Regions from separate parts of the Homo sapiens genome. Here all the other regions are linked to region 5. Evidence: promoter capture Hi-C in 16 types of primary human blood cells and fetal thymus (Javierre and others, 2016). All regions are on one chromosome and are shown on one strand. Each heading gives the region's core, a stretch centred on a gene start or on the middle of the fragment in contact. The rest is flanking DNA. Distances are from core to core; before and after follow the strand shown. Region 1 overlaps MAGI3 (membrane associated guanylate kinase, WW and PDZ domain containing 3). Region 2 overlaps MAGI3 (membrane associated guanylate kinase, WW and PDZ domain containing 3). Region 3 overlaps MAGI3 (membrane associated guanylate kinase, WW and PDZ domain containing 3). Region 4 has its middle 71 kb from the start of PHTF1. Region 5 holds the start of RHOC (ras homolog family member C).

The links. Contacts are between HindIII fragments. The CHiCAGO score rates a contact against its expected background, and 5 or more counts as called.
Region 1: a fragment that was not itself captured here is called in contact with the fragment with the promoter of RHOC in region 5 in 1 of 17 cell types (monocytes); the score reaches 6.3 in monocytes.
Region 2: a fragment that was not itself captured here is called in contact with the fragment with the promoter of RHOC in region 5 in 4 of 17 cell types (naive CD8 T cells, total CD4 T cells, naive CD4 T cells and 1 more); the score reaches 7.7 in naive CD8 T cells.
Region 3: a fragment that was not itself captured here is called in contact with the fragment with the promoter of RHOC in region 5 in 5 of 17 cell types (non-activated CD4 T cells, fetal thymus, monocytes and 2 more); the score reaches 7.3 in non-activated CD4 T cells.
Region 4: a fragment that was not itself captured here is called in contact with the fragment with the promoter of RHOC in region 5 in 6 of 17 cell types (total B cells, total CD4 T cells, naive CD8 T cells and 3 more); the score reaches 7.0 in total B cells.

Annotation. Positions count from the first base shown.
Region 1 is chr1:113,665,958-113,669,911 of GRCh38, reverse strand. All of the region lies in intron 16 of MAGI3 (membrane associated guanylate kinase, WW and PDZ domain containing 3), which reads right to left. Among named protein-coding and RNA genes, the nearest start is that of PHTF1, 92 kb to the left of the region's middle. The HindIII fragment of the contact is 551 bases long and covers 2,181-2,731 here.
Region 2 is chr1:113,449,444-113,453,435 of GRCh38, reverse strand. All of the region lies in intron 1 of MAGI3 (membrane associated guanylate kinase, WW and PDZ domain containing 3), which reads right to left. It also overlaps the pseudogene LOC100421402. Among named protein-coding and RNA genes, the nearest start is that of MAGI3, 61 kb to the right of the region's middle. The HindIII fragment of the contact is 5,311 bases long and covers 10-3,992 here.
Region 3 is chr1:113,390,907-113,394,601 of GRCh38, reverse strand. MAGI3 (membrane associated guanylate kinase, WW and PDZ domain containing 3) reads right to left here. Exons shown (of 21, transcript NM_001142782.2): 1 at 3,253-3,695. The coding sequence starts at 3,568. Among named protein-coding and RNA genes, the nearest start is that of MAGI3, 2.2 kb to the right of the region's middle. RefSeq lists enhancers at 3,042-3,091, 3,142-3,641 and silencers at 3,322-3,481, 3,542-3,671. The HindIII fragment of the contact is 2,247 bases long and covers 347-2,593 here.
Region 4 is chr1:113,686,777-113,690,575 of GRCh38, reverse strand. No RefSeq gene overlaps it. Among named protein-coding and RNA genes, the nearest start is that of PHTF1, 71 kb to the left of the region's middle. The HindIII fragment of the contact is 2,377 bases long and covers 827-3,203 here.
Region 5 is chr1:112,705,515-112,709,265 of GRCh38, reverse strand. It overlaps RHOC (ras homolog family member C), which reads left to right and starts at 2,139. Exons shown (of 6, transcript NM_175744.5): 1 at 2,139-2,188. RefSeq lists a silencer at 1,700-2,419 and an enhancer at 3,679-3,728. The HindIII fragment of the contact is 12,151 bases long and covers 1-3,751 here.

The DNA.
Region 1 (3,954 bases), core at 1,207-3,706, 960 kb before region 5:
ACTGCTCTCTTTGCCACCTTAGACTCCAGTTTTAACACATAAGTTGAAACATGCCACTGCCTTGTGTAAAAAACCTATGGTGGGCTGGGCGCGGTGGCTCATGCCTGTAATCCCAGCACTTCAGGAAGCCAAGGCAGGCGGATCACCTGAGGTCAGGAGTTCAAGACCAGCCTGGCCAACATGGTGAAACCCCGTCTCTACTAAAAATACAAAAATTAGTTGGGTGTGGTGGCATGTGCCTGTAGTCCCAGCTACTTGGGAGGCTGAGGCAGGAGAATCGTTTGAACCCAGGAGGTGGAGGTTGCAATGAGCCAAGATCATGCCACTGCACTCCAGCCTGGGCGACAGAGCAAGACTCTATCTCAAACTAACAAACAAAAACAACCTATGGTGACGTTTTCTTGCTCATAAGATACTTGTTACCTGGGCACTCCTGGCTTTCCATTTCACCTCATGTTCAAATTGTCACCTCCTCTGTGAAATCCTACCTGGCACCTTAAGCACACTGTGATCACAATGTTCTCACAGCATTTCCCACATTGTGTCAGAGCTGGCAGAACACCTGTCTCTCCTACTAGACTCTGAACTCCTTGATTGCAAGAATCACATCTCAGTTATCTCGATATTCCTGTACTCACTAGAAATTTCCATAAGTTCTTCCACATTTGCTTCCTGGGTATGTCAATTTCAAGTTACCTGTCTCTAAACTTTACTGCCCAGTATAGAGTTCGATTGTCTTCGGTCGCTGTAAATTCATGGTTACTATTAAGGAGATGGAAAATGATGGGGAAAATTCCATTTGCCAATGAGATGACTGGGAGATACTTGTACCTTTGCATGTGGTCAAGAGAGATAATTTATCGGCGTTACTAGCTTGGCTATTGTAATGAGTGTATAACATCAGAGCAGGACAATAGAAGTAATCTGATCAATTTCAAGTTTTCCTCTACCTTCCATTCCAGATGAGACATTTCAGTTCCAGGCAAAATGTACCACAAATTGGTGCTTACTTTTAAAGTTACATGTTTTTGGCCGGGCGCGGTGGCTCACGCCTGTAATCCCAGCACTTTGGGAGGCTGAGGCGGGTGGATCATGAGGTCAGGAGATCGAGACCATCCTGGCTAACAAGGTGAAACCCCGTCTCTACTAAAAATACAAAAAATTAGCCGGGCGCGGTGGCGGGCGCCTGTAGTCCCAGCTACTCGGGAGGCTGAGGCAGGAGAATGGCGTGAACCCGGGAAGCGGAGCTTGCAGTGAGCCGAGATTGCGCCACTGCAGTCCGCAGTCCGGCCTGGGCGACAGAGCGAGACTCCGTCTCAAAAAAAAAAAAAAAAAAAAAAAAGTTACATGTTTTTTGTTGTTTTGTTGTCTTCATCAAATTTAAGTAAAACTTCCTATCACTGGGATTCTTTTCATTTTTAGTCCTTCAACCCGTGCTACATGGCTTCTCCATTTTTTTTCTGTTATAAGCTATTTTACTTCACAAAGTCAAATATTTATTCCATAATGTCAAACAGGCCTATCTTCTCTCTGAATTTTATTTGAAAATTCTTAAAATAGTAAAGCAATGGGTTAAGTATATCTCTCCTTCGATGAGAATTACATTTTTGCTGGGCTTTCTGTCTGTAAGTATAGGTATGCCTTATTTTAGTACACTTCATTTTATTGCATTTTTTATAAATTGAAGGTTTATGGCAACCCTGCATTGGGCGAGTCTATTAGTGCCATTTTTCCAACAGCATGTGCTCACTTTCATGTCTCTGTGTCACATTTTGGTAATTCTTCCAAAATTTCTAACTTTTTCATTATTATTATATCTGTTATGGTGATCTGTGGTCAGTGATCTTTGATATTTATATTCTTGTACCCACTGGAAATTCCCAGGTCTTCCACCTTTGCTTACTGGGTATGTCAATTTCAAGTTACTTGTCTCTAATTGTTTTTGGGTGCCACAAATCACACCCATATAAAATGGCAAACATAATCGATAAATATGTGTGTGCTGGCTCCATCAACTAGCCTTTCCCCATCTTTCTCCCTCTCCTCAGGCCCCTCTATTCCCTGAGATGCACAATATTGATCATGCCAATTAATAACCCTACAATGACCTCTATGTATTCAAGTGAAAGAAAGAGTTGCATATCTCTCACTTTACGTCAAAAGCTAGACTTGATTAAGCTTAGTGAGGAAGGCTTGTTGAGACCTGAGACAGGCTGAAAGCTAGACCTCTTGTACCAGTTAGCCAAGTTGTGAATGCAAAAGAAAAGTTCTTGAAGAAAATTGTAAATATTACTCCAGTGAACAAATGAGTGACAAGAAAATGAAACAGCCTTATTGCTGGATATGGAGAAAGTTTTAGTGGTCTGGATAGAAGATCAAACCAGCCACAGTATTTCCATAAGCCAAAGCCTAATCCAGAGCAAGGCCCTAACTTTCTTCCATTCTGAGAGCTGAGGAAGCTGCAGAAGAAAAGTGTGAAGCTAGAAGAAGCTGGTTCATGAGGTTTAAGGAAAGAAGTCATCTCTATAATATAAAACTGCAAGGTGAAGCAGCAAGTGCTGATACAGAAGCTGCAGCAACTTTTCCAGAAGATTCAACTAATATCATTGGTGAAGGTGGCTACACTAAACAACAGATTTTCAAGGTAGACAAAACAGCCTCTTATTAGAAGAAGATGCCATCTAGGACTTTCATAGCTAGAAAGGAGAAGTCAATGCCTGGCTTCAAAGCTTCAAAGGCAGCTGACTCTCTTGCTAGGGGCTAATGCAGCTGGTAAATTCATGTGCTCATTTACACTCCAAAAATCTTAGGGCCCTTAAGAATTATGCTAAATCTACTCTGCCTATGCTCTAAAAATGGAACAATAAAGCCTGGATGACAGCACATCTGTTTACAGCATGATTTACTGAATAATTTAATCCCACTGTTGAGACCTACTGCTCAGAAAAAAAGATTCCTTTCAAAATATTACTGCTTACTGACAAAGCACCTAGTCACTCAAGAGCTCTGATGGAGAAATACAAGGAGATAAATGTTGTTTTCATGAGTTCCAATACAACATCCATTCTGTAGCCCATGGATCAAGGAGTAATTTTGACTTTCAAGTCTTAGTATTTTAAGAAATATATTTGGTAAGTCTATAGCTGCCACAGATAGTGATTTTTCTACGGGTCTAGGCAAAGCAAACTGAAAACCTGGAAAGGTTTCTAGACGACATTAAGAACATTCGTGATTCATGGGGAAGAGGTCAAAAATATCAACATTAACGGGAATTTGGAATAATTTGATTCTAGTTCCCATGGATGACTTTGAGAGGTTCAAGACTTCAGTGGAGGAAGTAACTGCAGATGTGGTAGAAACAGCAAGGAACAGAATTAGAAGTAGAGCCTGAAGTTGGGACTGAATTGCTGTAATCTCATGACAAAACTTGAACAGGTGAGGATTTGCTTCCTACGGATGAGCAAAGAAGTGGCTTCTTGAGATGGAATCTACTCCTGGTGAAGATGCTGTGAACACTGTTGAAATGACCACAAAGGATTTAGAATAGTACATAACCTTAGTTGATAAAGTAGAGGCAAAGTTTGAGAGGACAAAGTCCAATTTTGAAAGAAGTTTTACTGTGGGTAAAATGCTATCAAACAGCATCACATGCTACAGAGAGATCTTTGGTGAAAGAAAGAGTCAATGTGGCAGACTTTATTGTCTTATTTTAAGAAATTGCTACAGCCACCTCAACCTTCAGTAACTACCACCCAAATCAGTCAGCAACCATCAACATCGAGGCAAGACCCTCCATCAGCATAAAGATTAAGACTTACTAAAGGCCCAGATGATCATTAGCATTTCTTAGCAATAAAGTATACTTTCATTAAGGTATGTATATTGTTTTTTAAGACATACTGCTATTGCACACTTAAGAGACTACAGTATAGTGTAAATATAACTTCTATATGC
Region 2 (3,992 bases), core at 1,416-3,915, 740 kb before region 5:
CTGAAAGCTTTGGAAAGGTAAATCTCAAAATGTTAGAAAAGAAAAATTGTTATAAAAAATATAAAAATCGAGTAGGATTCCATACTCAGTTTGCTAAGCTCTTGTTCTACTTTATGGAAATTTGAATTGGAAACAGGAGACAAGCATTATATGTTGTTTATGCAAGAAAGATGACAGCAGTCTCCAGTCAGTATATGCTTTAAGTTAAAAATCAAATGCTCATGAAAATTTATATCAATTTATGTAATTCCCTATCTTAATTGTCATTTTCAATTAATCAACCATTGGCTCCACTTGTATCCTATACATACAAGAGAACACTAGGTGGCATTCAGGCTAGGCTGAGCTGGTCTGCTTTCCCATGAAGAACTTGTAACATATGTGCTTATATACTTATAAAGTATATCATGCAACTGCTTACTTATAAGGGTCTGACTTTTGCGTGCACAGTGGAATGTATCAATTTGCTGGTCAACTTATTAATTCCACTCTTGCTTGTTGATGGATAATCAAAGTAAGATTTCCTGCTATATTGCTTTGGGGATACTGAAGGAAGAAAAAACCTCTTTATTTCTTTGAGTAAAATTTCTTCACTGAGTCTTTCTAATCTTGGGTTTTCCTTTGTCATGTTTTCCTTGTTTCCCCCTCATCCTACTTTAATCTCCTTTTTGGCCTGTGCCACTTTGCTGAATGGGCAAATCACCCTAGAGGTTATTTAATCCTATTCAGGTCAACAGAGAAAAAAGTATACAAAACAACAACTGCATTTGTGGGGTTTTTTCCCACTATAAAATATTTTAAAGTAGTTGCTTCTAAGAGGCTGTCATAGATCAACCTTTATTGTCAGTGCAAACTCACAGTACTGCATTCCCATCATAACTTTTCTCAATAGATTATGAAAAGATATCAAATAAAAATTAAAATTTAAGGGAACAATGAGGCTTCAGTGTGTGTGTGTGTGTGTGTGTGTGTGTGTGTGTATGTCTATGCACATAAGTTAATCCAACAAAATTAACACATAAATACTTGGCTAAATCTGATGTCCTAATGGAGTAGTTACAGTGAAGTCCCATAGAGAGATCATCAATCTTTAGAACATAATTCAGACTAAAATTCTGCAATGAAGCAGCTTTCGGATCAAAACTCCAAAAATAAATGAATGCCAAATGACTTCACTGAACCTTAATCCTAAACAGAAGACCTTATGGCTACTACATACCTTGACTTACTAAAAATTACTTCCCCTTCCTGAAAGGGGAAATTGGGTGACATAAGCAAGGTCCTTTCTTTGCAGGAAAAAAACAAAAAGGAATCAACAGTTTGCCCTGCTTCTGCTCAGGAAAGAAAGATATTGTGATCTCTTGTTCTTTATTAAGCAAAGAATATCACTCCAGAGCAAAAAGTGGTCATTTCAGCATGTCTGTAAGCAGCACTTATAATGGAATGCTTCAGAATCCCTTTTGAGAGCTAAGGAAGTAATTGTGAAGAAACGTTTATTATCCATCCACCCTCATTTACCTAACCAGTTGGGTGATTGCCAATGGAAGGTGGGTAGACAGGAGAAAAAAGTAATGTGTACAGACACACTGCCATAGCAATTAACATCACATTTATTTCTACTACATGTTTACCTTTTCTAGAAAACATGTACAAAAATAGAAAAGACAATGTTGCAGAATAAAAACCACTGCACAGATGAAATTGTTAATAGTTGGGATTATTTTCTCTTCTTAATGCCGTGTTCCCCAGGGAAATATACATATAGTTGCTTGATCATACTACCCATTTCCACCTCCAAAAAAAAAATTCCCTCCTTAATTGATGTCTATTTCCTTATAAGGAACAAAAGTCTCAAAAATAACATTGTTCCAGCAATGATCTTCCTTAGGACATTTTCGAGAACACTTGGCATCAAAAAGTGAGTCTTATGGTGTACCATAAATGAGAAGGGTGATAAAACTGCATATGTAGGGAGTTTTAAAATATATAATATTGTGTACAATTTTAAAGATTTATAAATCTGCACAGTTTTGATTATTTTCTTTAACATATATAAATTATTAAAACAAATCCAAGATGATGAAGAGTATCTGAAGAAACCAGAGAAGAAAAATAGTCAACTATCTGTATACTCTCAAAGCTGTTTACGATGAGATCAATTTTACAGGTTAAAGCCTGTAATAAGCCTTATAGAAAGTTTATCAGTCCATTCTTCAAGCTAACATAATCCTGATAACAAACGGAGTAAGGATAGCTTCCTCTAATACACATGATGGACCAATTTCATTTATGCAGATATACTGAAAAATTTTTCTTTTGAAAAGTTAAAAATTCCTTTATTTTTCATTCCTGGTACCACTACCACAATTTACAGGGCAATATACTTGATGTAATGAAAAGAAAAAGAAAAAGACAAAGCTACAACAGATAAAAGACCTCAGGAATGTACATCTAATTGACACTACATTGCATTAATCAATAACTGCACTTTTTGCAAACTGTGGCTATGACAGTCCTGAACAAGAAGGGTTTCCTGTTTAAGCTGCAATAACTTTTCTGACTATGGATCATCGTTCCTTCTGTGGCAGATTTTTACAGTTCCTCTAATGCATTTGGGAGGACTGTCTCAAAGTAAGCTGCAGTTTTCCTGACAACTCCTCGCTCTCTCTCCTACTAAGAACTGTAGCCCTTTTCTGCTGTTTTTCGAACCTTCTGCTACCATATCCACCACTTCCACCACCAGATCCATAACCACCACCATAGGGACTGCCCGAGCTTCTTCCACCAGAACTGTCCCCTTTCACGGGTCCATAATTTGATTGCTGTTGTCCACTATAATTTCCAAAATCATTATAGTTCCCACCACCACCATAGTTACCACCGCCAAAATTTCCTCCTTCATTGTAACCATCATATCCTCCACCACCTCCACCATATCCACCACCTTGGTTTCCATATCCTGGTCCACCACCACCATAGCCCCCTCTACTACTATAACCAGGACCACACCATAGTTGCCACCATCACCTCCAAATCCATTATATCCACCATCACCTCCTCCATAACTACCTCTGCTGCCACCACCTCCACCACCATAGCTCCTCCACCACCTCCAAAGTTTCCTCCGCGACCCATAAAATTGCCAGATCCACCTCCACGACCTCTCTGTGATCCAGCAGACTGCATCTCTTGTTTAGAAAGGGCCTTTTTCACTTCACAATTATGCCCATTAATAGTGTGGTATTTCTGAACAACAATTTTATCAACTGTATCATGCTCATCAAAAGTTACAAAAGCAAATCCTCTTTTTCCCACTCTGCCTGTCTTCCGTAACTTCTATGGTTTCAATTTTGCCATACTTTTCAAAGAAGTCTCTCAAATTATATTCTTCTGTATCTTCTTTAATACCACCAACAAAAATTTTCTTCACTGTTAGATGGGCACCAGGCTTTACAGAATCCTCTCTAGAAACAGCTGTCTTTGGTTCCACTACACGCCCATCAACCTTGTGTGGTCAAGCACACATTGCTGCATCCACCTCTTCAACACAAGAATAAGTCACAAAACCAAAGCCCCTGGAACGTTTTGTTTGGGGGTCTCTCATTACCACACAATCTGTGAGTGTGCCCCATTTCTCAAAATGTTCTCTTAAACTATCATCTGTAGTTTCAAAGCTCAGACCACCAATAAACAGTTTTCTCAACTTCTCTGGTTCCTTTGGATCATGGCCCTCCATTTTGAGACCAGACTCGCCTCTTCCAACTCGAGTTCAATATCGATATACTGAAAAATTTTTTAATCAGCAAACTGAATGTTGATAATAAACTCAATCTATTGGGAAAAAAAAATGCACTTGCAGATAATTTATCCAGAATCTCCAGGATCTACTCTGTTCTGGATGGATGTCGTCTCCAACGGTCTGGAAATTTTAACCCCCAAATGTTAAAATGATGAAAAAATATAGATCCAGCCCCAAATCTTCTAAGTGAATT
Region 3 (3,695 bases), core at 221-2,720, 690 kb before region 5:
AACAAAATTCACTACTTGTATATTAATCAGAATAGAAATGGTTTAAGAATATATACTCTGTAGTAAAATCAAAGAAACTAAACCTAGTCATAGTAGTATATCACAAAACAATTTCACCAGAGGTCCAAAGTTCAACTTTACTACTGGGAAAAGACAAAGTTCAAACTCAAATGACAACTTTTCTCTTTGCAGAAAAATAAACAACAGGGTCATAATTAAGAAACAAGTAACTAATCGAGCCAAGCAATAGGTGAAACCAAAGATTCTTCTATAAGCGGGCAAAGTACTGACTACTAAGTACTACACTAAAACAATAAGAAACTACCTAATTGATTCAGGAAAAGCTTCAGATTAGAAACCATATTTTAAAGAGTAACTTTCAATTCTCTATTAAAGATTATAACAACAAAAAAAGGGAAAAAAAATCAAAGCTAAAGACAGTAGCTGCCAGAAAGATGTTAAGTCACCTGGCTGATAGTACTGGCTTTGGGAGGGCGACCCTTAGCACCTAAGTGAAAAGAAGGCTAGGAAGAATCAGTGCTACAAAAGCCATGTTCTACAACCCAGCTCATCCTTCTGCCATGGACTTTGTCAGAAGACAATATGAGAACATTTCCGATTAGTATTACATCTTACAAAAATGGTTAAATTTTACTCTTTCACTGTGCTAGTCTCTAAATGTCATGTTATGAATATGGTTTAATAAAAAGCAACTAGTCAAGACAAGAGAGTGCTAAGTACACTTTACAATACCTTATTAAATTGAAAAATCAATTTCTGTCACAAAGTTTAGATAAAAGCAAAAAATAAAACAATGTTTATGGCAAGTTTCTTTTTAAATTCCCTTACTCTATTTTCATCCTTTCCAAAATGAATCACAATAAAGAATCTTTGTCTCTTCTGAAAATAATATTTGTTTTTAATCAAACTCAAAAGTTCTACAGATAACCTCTTCAAATTCTTAATTTCTAGTATTTAAAGTCTGTTTAACCTGCAAAAATCTTGCTATTTTATAACAAATGTTGCTTTTAAGCAAAGCCATTTAAGAAAGCCATTTAATATAATACCTAACATGAGGCTATTAAGAAGCTAAGAATACTATTTTTAAAAGAGATTAAAAATTTTAAATTACAACCTGCTTAGAAACAATATTAATCTCAAATAACACAGACATAATGGTATCTTGAGAAATTACTGACACAAAGTGTCTCTTCAAAAAACAAGTGTAGTATTCAGAACTTTATTACTAATGACTACAAAATGTTCTGTGGCCATTAATACGTTATTCCCTTTATTTTGGCTAAATCTTTAAAATAGAACAGTGTCTGTGGCTGTCAAGAGGGCAAAACTGTATTACTCTAATAATGTCAACTACATACGGGGGCATAGGATGTTTATTCAACACAGTTAATATTACTAATGCTCTAAATCTTGAATTATTGTTAAATATAATATAGAGGTTGAGAAAAATGTATAACAGGTAGATTAGACTAATGTTATGAAATAGCCATCTCTTCAGTCTTCTAAAAAAGATCACAATAATTTAGAATACACCAGCTTCCATGTCAATATATCAACTTTAAAATTTCTAAAAATAAGTTATATTCTCATCTATGCCCTAACGAATCAAAACAAAACACAAAGAAATGATGCAGATGTTCTCACTATTCACTAACTCATGGGATTTGAACTAAGATTTGGCAGCTAGACTAGTAAATGCTGTCTATATAGCCTTTTGCATATTACAGACAGTGCCTGACTAGCTGAATTACAGCCCCAAAAGTCTTTCCTCTGCCTTTCACACATGGCTGTAAAAGTTAGAGTTAAGAAAAAAATTTACAAATTCTCAAAACTATACAGAAAAAGCTGTTTAAAGTCTGCCAAAGTTTTAAAAAATTAACAACAATAAAAAGAAAACCTCACCACATAAACCCATACACTTAAAATGAATACGATGGAATACGCTATAGAAAGAAAATCTTAATTATGACCTTAGGAGCATGTGAGTCTGTGTGTATACATATCCACAATACACAGACATATGTAAACTGCACCACAAACCATCAAGCCCCATTAAGCTCAAGGACTATTAAAGATATATTAATATTTCCAAAGCGAGCTGCTGAGAAAGAAATGAGAAGGAGATAACATATTAAATTTTTATCCAGAATTTTCTAGCATTTTGCCATCAAGGGATGGACTGCTACCTAGCCCAGGTAACAATTAACCAGCCCATTATATTTTGATGCACCGTATACTCAGCAGAGCACATTAAGGAAAAACAGTTTGGTTTCTAATAATGTTACAATCACAATTCTCTCTCCCACAAACATCTAAGACGACAGAACCACATTCTATCTATGCTGAAACAAAACCAACAATGCTGTCTATAACAAATTCATAAGAACTACTACATACTATCAGATCTCACTGTATGCTGTCTCTGATCAATGCTTTGAAACTGACGAGTATGCCATAAACATAACGTGCTTTGCAGCAATTTTTACTAGCATAAAAGATACCAGGGCAACAGAGGCTCCTTTAACCTACCACTTCAACAAAATTCTGTAAAATCAAAAGCGTTACAGAAGCTTTCACTCCGCTAGGCACCTAGGTCTTCCTGCAAAACCCAGACTCTATTCAACAGCTCCCTGCAAGAACACACCAGTCTGCCACATATCACATATTGTACCGTCATCGGTACTCAGACACCTGAACCACCTGGACTGACAGAGTTAGGCTGTCAGCTCTGAGATGTCTGCTAGAGTGCAAGAAACACTGAAGCAGCTAAGCCCTTCCAGGTACACCAGGTGGTAACCTTGGCACCAAGTGCCTCTATAGTAAAGTCCCTTTTTCCCTGTTAGAAGATGCGTAAGATCGTTCCAAAGAAAATGTTACAATCCTAAGGGCCTTTTTGCACAACACAGGAAAAGGCTGGCCTTCTCTAGTCAAAAACTCTTGTCTGCGGGGGGAGATGGAGCTACAAATGTAGGAAACCCAGCTTCTAGTCGCAATTCTGTGACAGCTAGCACAGCTAGCAGAGCAACCGCGCCAAGCCAGAGCTCAGTTTTCCCTTCGGCAAAATGGGACTCACCAACGCCACCCCTCCCCCTCGTCAAGGAGTCTGGCACACCCTAGAGGTCTAAGATTACCCGGGACAATACGCGGTGGGGAGGTGCCGCCGCTCCCAGGACGCCCACCCTGAAGCCCCTCTCCCCAACACCCCGAGACAGATACGCAGGGCCGGCGTACCTGGTTTCACAGTCTTGAGACGGATGGGCTCGCGGAAGTGGCGGATGACAGCCAGGGTGTCCCGGTTGGTGAGCCCGCTGACAGGCGTCCCGTTTACCTCCAGCAGCACATCGCCTGGGCTGGGCGCCTTGCCCGAGACGACGCAGCAGGTGCCCCCGCCGGGCTCCTCGCGGAGCCGCCCCAGGTAGGGGAACTCGCCACGCTCCGCGCCACCGCGGATCTCCGCGCCGAAGTCGCCCGGGGGCCCGGCCCAGGACACGGCGCACTCCTGCACCTTGCTGAGCCAGTGCTTCTTCTTCTTCAGCGTCTTCGACATCCCGAACCCCGCTGCACCATGGGGGAGACCCCGCGCGGGCGGCCGGGGCGCCGCTCCGGCCCCGTCTCAGCCCGGGGGCCCTGGGCGGCCCGCGCAGCCCGGTAAGGGGGGCCTCGCCGCTCCGGCC
Region 4 (3,799 bases), core at 766-3,265, 980 kb before region 5:
TTTTATAAATTTTAACTTTTTATAATAGATTTGTGTGTATTTTATAGTAAATGATAAAATAGGCTAGTATCTATATAACTTTTTAATTTTTCTATATTTCTAGGCTACATGGTTTGTTTTTTCAAATTGCCACAAATCTCAAAAAAATTTTCCAATATACTTACAGAAAAAGGCCTGTATATAAGTGGACCCACACCATTCAAACCCATGTTGTTCAAGGATCAACTGTAATTTCATGGTTCTCCCACCTTCAGTGCCTCATTTATCCCTGTATAATAATTTCTAGGAACTTGGGCTTTTGTTTTGATTTCAAAAAAGGAATGAGATTTTGGTGATAATTACTTGTTACTGAGAAATTAAACCAAGATGTAAAAACAATTAGATTAGGCCATTCATACATTTAGTTGGAATAGTAATAACCATAGAAGGGTAAGAAAAATACCTGTTGACTTAATTTTATAATCTGCAGTTATATTGGGAAAAATTATCTCTCCTAAAGTTGCTGTGGGTGTATAATATACCACAGGGGTCCCCAGCCACCCACACCCACGCTGAACAGCAGGAGGTGAGCTGCAGGTGAGAGTGAAGCTTCATCTGTATTTACAGCTGCTCACACTGCTTGCATTACTGCCTGAGCTCCACCTCTGTCAGGTCACCTCTGTCAGGTCAGCAGCAGCATTGGATTCTTAGAGGAGCGTGAACCCTGTTGTGGACTGTGCATGCGAGGATCTAGGTCGTGTGCTCCTTATGAGAATCTAATGCCTGATGATCTGTCACTGTCTCCCGTCACTTCCAGATGGGACGTCTAGTTGCAAGAAAACAAGCTTGGGGCTCCCACTGATTCTACATTATGGTGAGTTGTATAATTATTTCATTATATATTACAATGAAATAATAAAGTGCACAGTAAATGTAATGCACTTGAATCATCCTGAAACCACCCCCTCCCTGCATCCCTTCTCCCTGCCCCCAGGTCCGTGGAAAAATTGCCTTCCATGAAATCAGTCTCTGGTGCCAAAAAGGTTGGGGACTGCTGATCTACAGACTTTCTAAATATGTACAATATGGCCCATGTATAATATAAACACTTTGAGAAGTTGAATAACCAAATACTTGCCTCATTGGAGTATGGTTCTGACTTTCAGAGACAGGTAGAAAAATTCTAAATACCAGGATGTCTCACAAAGTATAGTTTGTTTTTATTTTAGGTTCATTTTATTTAGAGGCAAGTGGACCTATGCAGTTTAAAAATAATCTTTCAAATTAATGAAATTTATGTGTGAAAACTTTTAGATCTACACACTCATAATAGGCTAGATGAGTCTCTCTTCCAAATACAGTGTGTCACTTGGGAGTTAATTCATTAAACCTAATCTATTCATGTACTGGCTAGTTTAGTAATCCTTTGCTCCCTGCTGTTATTGGGGCCCATGTTGAATAGTGAAGTGTGAGTTTCACAAATGTGCAATAATTCTATACCTTTCCTGCAGCATATCCTGAGCCTATAAGGTATAATAGGGTATTACTCTAGTTAATAAATGGTTGTCTTTTATTTTTCTATTTTTTTTTTTTTTAATTTTTTTGAGATGGAGTCTCGCTCTGTCACCCAAGCTGGAGTGCAGTGGTGCGATCTTGGCTCATTGCAACTTCTGCCTCCCAGGTTCAAGTAATTCCCCTGCCTCAGCCTCTTGAGTAGCTGGGACTACAGGCGCGTGCAACCACGCCTGGCTAATTTTTTGTATTTTCAGTAGATACGGGATTTCACTGTGTTAGCCAGGATGGTCTCGATCTCCTGACCTCGTGATCCACCTGCCTCGGCCTCCCAAAGTGTTGGGAATACACGCGTGAGCCACTGTGCCCAGCCGATTATCTTTTATTAAGGACAAAATATGTCTCTTGATTTGTGTATTTGCTAATAGTTAGGCTTGACTTGAATGCAGTATTGCAAAATACCCACAGGATTATTTGTCAAGATATAGGTTTAGGCTAAATTAAAGCTCTTGGCTATGTTTTCCTATTTTAATGTATACATAAGAAAGATTCAGAGTTTTCTATTAAATAGAATTTTTTTTTTTTTTTTTTGAGACAGTTCTTGCTCTGTCGCCAGGCTGGAGTGCAGTGGCATGATCTCAGCTCCCTGCAACCTCCGCCTCCTAGGTTCAAGCGATTCCCCTGCCTCAGCCTCCCAAGTAGCTGAGATTATAGGCATGCGCCACCACACCCAGCTATTTTTTTGTATTTTAGTAGAAATGGGTTTCACCATGTTGGCTAAGATGGTCTTGATCTCCTGACCTCCTGATCCACCTGCCTTGGCCTCCCAAAGTGCTGGAATTACAGGCGTGAGTCACCGCGCCCAGCCAGAATTCTAACTCCTTATAAGCCTTCATACTCCCTTATTATACTACTTAAAAAAAAATTTTTTTTTTTTTGGCTGGGCACAGTGGCTCACACCTGTAACCCCTGCACTTTGGGAAGCTGAGGTGGGCAGATCACCTGAGATCAGGGGTTTGAGACCAGCCTGGCCAACATGGTGAAACCCCATCTCTACCAAGAAGTACAAAAATTAGCTGGGTGTGGTAGTGTGCGCCTGTAGTCCTAGCTACTGGGGAGGCTGAGGTGGGAGAACTGCTTGAACCCAGGAGGCAGAGGTTGCAGTGAGCCAAGATCGTGCCACTGCACTCCAGCCTGGGTGGCAGAGTGAGACCCCATCTCAAGGGGAAAAAAAAGAAAAAGATTTATTTTTGAGATGGGGGTCTCACTGTGTCATCCAGGCTGGACTCAAACTCCTGGGCACAAGTGATCCTCCCAGCTCAGCCTCCTGAGTAGTTTGGACTACAGGTGTCTACTACCATGCCTGGCTTTATAATTCTTAAGGCTACTTGCCTAGCAATGTTGAAAAAATATCCAACTTAGTTGATATATTAAGTTAATTCAGCTAGCTAAAAGCAAAGATTATAGATTCCATGTAATAATGACATGCTTTAAACAAGTCATATTCCCGATAAACTCTAATAGAACCAGAAAAGAGCCACCCGAATAAATAAATGTTATTGTTTCAAAGCACAAATAGTTTTTAGGCCTTGGAGCATGCCATGATGATGTAAAAACTTGCTCTGATGTATTCCTCATACCAGACTGAAATGTCACATTTTGTAACAAGTTTATTTATATCAATGTTCCTTAGCTCCACTGTGGACTAAGCTTCAACTTAAATACAGCTTTCTGGAAGTCATTAGTGAGACTGTTTGTTTTATACAGTTTAATCTGAATACTCCTTGCCTTATAAATCCTTACTCTTTGAATGGTGGACATATTAAACATAAAATAATTCTTTGTCTACATGTTTAAAAGCATTTGGTTTTACTTCTACATGATTACATTTATTTCTCTTTTAAATCTTGCTATTAAAAAGGGAAGTAACAAGGTATTCTCATGTAGAATAAAAAGCCAAGTGCCTTTCTGGATCCAAGACTTCTGAAATAAGAGTTGTTCCTGTTCAAAAGCTGCCTGGTCCAAGACTGATGTAACTAAAGACAATATCATAGGATCTTAGCCTTCTAATCTCACTAGGGAGACAATGTAATAATATCTCAAAGCTTTTCTCCCTGTTGTGACCAGTAAGAAAATATGTTCACTAAAACAACAAAACGATTTTACTGCCTGTTTGTTTCTGCAGCCTCTGCTATGGCACATCTTCACTGTGGGGTCTGGGAACTAACTAGAAGTTTGGGTATACTTTTTTTTTTTTTTTGAGATGGAGTCTCATCATCTGTCAGCCAGACTGGAGTGCAGTGGTGTG
Region 5 (3,751 bases), core at 890-3,389:
TGTAATCCCAACACTTTGGGAGGCAGAGGTGAGAGGACTGCTAAGCCCAGGAGTTTAAGACCACCCTGGGCAATAGTGAGACCCCATCTCTACAAAAAAATAAAAAATTAGCTGAATGTAGTGGTGAGTGCCTGTGGGAAGCAGTTAAGCATCCAAGGAAATTAAGAGTATTGCTTATAGTAGAAAAGAATAAAGATCTCAAATCAGTGATCTGTTTCCACCTTAAGAGGCTAGAAAAAGAACAGCAAATTAAACCCAAAGTAAGTTAAGGGAAGCAAAAATAAAGATGAGCAAAATAATTAGAAAAGGCCCCTCACCAGCCTGGGCAATATAGCAAGACCTCATCTGTACAAAAAATACAAAAATTAGGTGTGATGGTACACGCCTGTAGTCTCAGCTGCTGGGGAAGCTGAAGTGGGAAAATCATTGGAGCCTGGAAAGTTGAGGCTGCAGTGAGCTGAGATCTTGCCACTGCACACTTAGGCAACAGAGACCTTGTCTCAAAAAAAAATTAAAATTAAAAAAATCTACACATCACCTTATCTTGAGAACTTCACCTGTTGTTCAGGACTGGGTATCGCACAGCCCACACATGCCCACACTACAGCAATGACCTCCGGTATTGTAACTGTCTACATTAGGAGTCAGTAGGGAGTAGGAATTAAGAACAGGGGCTCTAGAGTTCAGCTGTTTGGGTTCTAGTGTCAGACCCAGCACTAGCTCTGTAACCTCTCTGAACCTCAATTTGCTTCTCAGTAAAATGGAGATAGCTACCTCATGGGATTCTTGTAGTTAATGTATGTGGACCCAGGTCCATGTAATATGGATTCAATAAATGTTAGCTATCTTGAAATTGCATTCCTCATTTAGACTCTAAGTTGTTTGAAGGCAGAAATGGATCTTCCGAACATAGCTCTCAGTTCACCCTCGAGAAATGTTCATTGAGTCAGTTAAGAGGCCTGGGGCCAAACTGCTGCGGACCTGTTTTCACATTTGTCAAATGTCTGGATTGCACTTCAGATATTTAAAGTCTGTATGACTCCTAACATTCATTCATTCATCAAATATTTGTTGACAACCTATTATGTGCCACTCACTCTGCTAGACAACGGGGGAAGGGACAGGCTGGAGGAGCCCGTGAGGTAGCAGGGCCAGACCACCAGTTTGGAGCCAGACAGGCCCGGCTGTGTGAATTCTTGCTGTCACAAGTCAAAAACAGTTGTGTAAGCCACTTGATTTCTCTGAACCTCAGCTTCTCTATGGGCAAAAGGGGATGGGTATATTTTCCCCAGAGATCTGTGATGAATATTGAAAGGGTTAAGCTGTGTAGTGTCCCAAGCACAAGCCAATGAAATGTTGGTGGACGTCCTCATTCTACTCCCACCTCCTCAGCTCCCTTACAGGGAAAGGAGATACGCGTGTAGGTAAATATCCTATGCGCCAAGTCAGACCTAGGAGTGGGAACAGAATTCACAGCTGGGATCCAGAAGCATTTCTAGGCGCACCCTTTGAGGAGTAGGTAGGAATTGGACTCCTGGAAATTCCAGGCCCAGGGAAGAAAGCGAATTGTGAGGAGGAACGGTGGTCTGGGTCTGAACGGCTCTGAGAGGTCTTCAAGTTTGGGGGATGACGTTGGGCTGTACGATCCTAGGAACAAGAGGGTGGACATCTCCCCCCAACCAACACACCCGCGCCGGGCCCTGGGACCTCCCGGCGGATACCCTTTCCCAGTCCCGCTTCCCGCGAGGTCCCAGGTGCAGCAGGAGCGGGTGGCCGCTTGGCCACAGGAGGGCAGCAGCGGCCCTTCCTGACCCCACCCCGAGCACCTCTTAACTTTCCCGACGCCGGTCCTCCCCTAGGGGATTGAAGGCTGGGCAGAGTCTGAGTCCACCCGGGTCGTGCTCCCCCCGCTCGCCCGGCTCCTCCGCAGTCCAGGAATCTCCCCGTGGCTCTCCCCGACCTGGAGGGGTGGACGCCCCTGGCCCCCAGTCCCCGGCCTGCGGAGGGGGCCGGTGGCTGCGGCCCTGCGCGGGGCCGGGGCGGGCCGAGCCAAGGGCCGCCCCCGGCCGACCCTCCCCCTGCCGGGCCCGCCCTCCCCGCCGCGGCGCTGGAGGAGGGCGGGGCGGGGCCCTGGGGTCAGTCTGAGCCTCCGGCACCGGCCGCGCAGCTGGAGGCGGCGGAGCGGAAGGTACCCTGGGCCGGGGCTGCGGGCGGTGGGGCGTCTTGGGAACTCGTCCCCAGGAGAGCACTTTCCCTTCCTCGCTGGCCCGGAGATCGGGGCCCGTGCGAGGAGGGGCTTCGGCCTGGGCGTGGACCCCGTTCCCTCCAAGCGGAGTCGGCATCCGGGCTGGGCGGTGGTCGGACCGCGTCGGCCCCTCCCCGGGCTGCAGCGAGGGGGCCCGGACCTGCCGGCAGGGGCTCTGGCCTCCTGAGGTCCGAGTCGGAGCCCCTTCCCTTCTCCTCCCAGCTTCCCGGAACCTGCCCCGCCGGGCGAGGGGCGAGGGAACTTCAACTCAGACGCCCCAGCCCCCAGGGTGGGCGGCCGCAGGGGACCTAGAGTGGGATGGGGTGGGAATTCCTCCAGGCCAGGAGGGAGGTATGGCGGGAATAGGGGCGGGATGTGACCATTGGGGCCTGCCACTGCTCGGCAGGGTCTGGACGCCGCCCTGGACGGTTCCTGGAGCCCGCTTGTGTTGAGGATAAGGGAGATGGGGAAGGATCCAACTCTGTGTGTGTGTGTGTGTGTGTGTGTGTGTGTGTGTGTGTGTGTGTGTGTGTGTGTGTGTGTGTGTGTGTGTGTGGTGTGTGTGTGTGTGTGTGTGTGTGTGTGTGTGTAGAGAGAGAGAGAGAGAGAGAAAATGAGATTGAGAATCCTCCTTCTTCATACTCGAACCAAGAAAGAGTATCCTGGGGTTTGGGACTGGGATCCCGAGGCCGAGTCCCGCCCTCACTCTGGTTTTAAAGTTGAGAATGCAGTATCTCTTGGTATCTCCAGAACGGATTCCTTCCCTAGGTGTAGGGTGGGCCGGCAAAGTCAACCGGCCGCTCTGGATCATCTGGGAATTCAAGAGAGCGATTGGAGAGAGGTCTGATGTAGCCACACTGTCTTGTCTTGGGGAAGGCCCCAGAAGTTCCAGGCTCCATTCCAGGCCCTGTGTGGGGCTCAGTTGCCCCTCTTAAGGGGTCAGTGGGACAGTCCCTCTGGGGCTGCCTCTCACAGGGAGTTGTCCATGCCATCTTGGCCTTGGGCCTAGTGTCCTGGCCTGGGCTGCCTGCTGTTCTGGCCCAATCATAGCCTGGAGGGAAAGTCTTCTAATTGGGCTGGAGGCTCCAGGTCCCTTAACGCATGCCTCAACCCCGGGTTTCTGTCCTCTGCCTCCCACCACTCTGGTGCCGTCTGAATTACCCTGCTGGGGGGACAGCAGTGGCATACTCATGCCTAAGTGACTGGCTTTCACCCCAGTAGTGATTGCCCTCCATCAACACTGCCCACCCCAGGTTGGGGCTACCCCAGCCCATCTTTACAAAACAGGGCAAGGTGAACTAATGGAGTGGGTGGAGGAGTTGGAAGAAATCCCAGCGTCAGTCACCGGGATAGAATTCCCAAGGAACCCTCTTTTTGGAGGATGGTTTCCATTTCTGGAGGCGATCTGCCGACAGGGTGAATGCCTTCTTGCTTGTCTTCTGGGGAATCAGAGAGAGTCCGTTTTGTGGTGGGAAGAGTGTGGCTGTGTACTTTGAACTCCTGTAA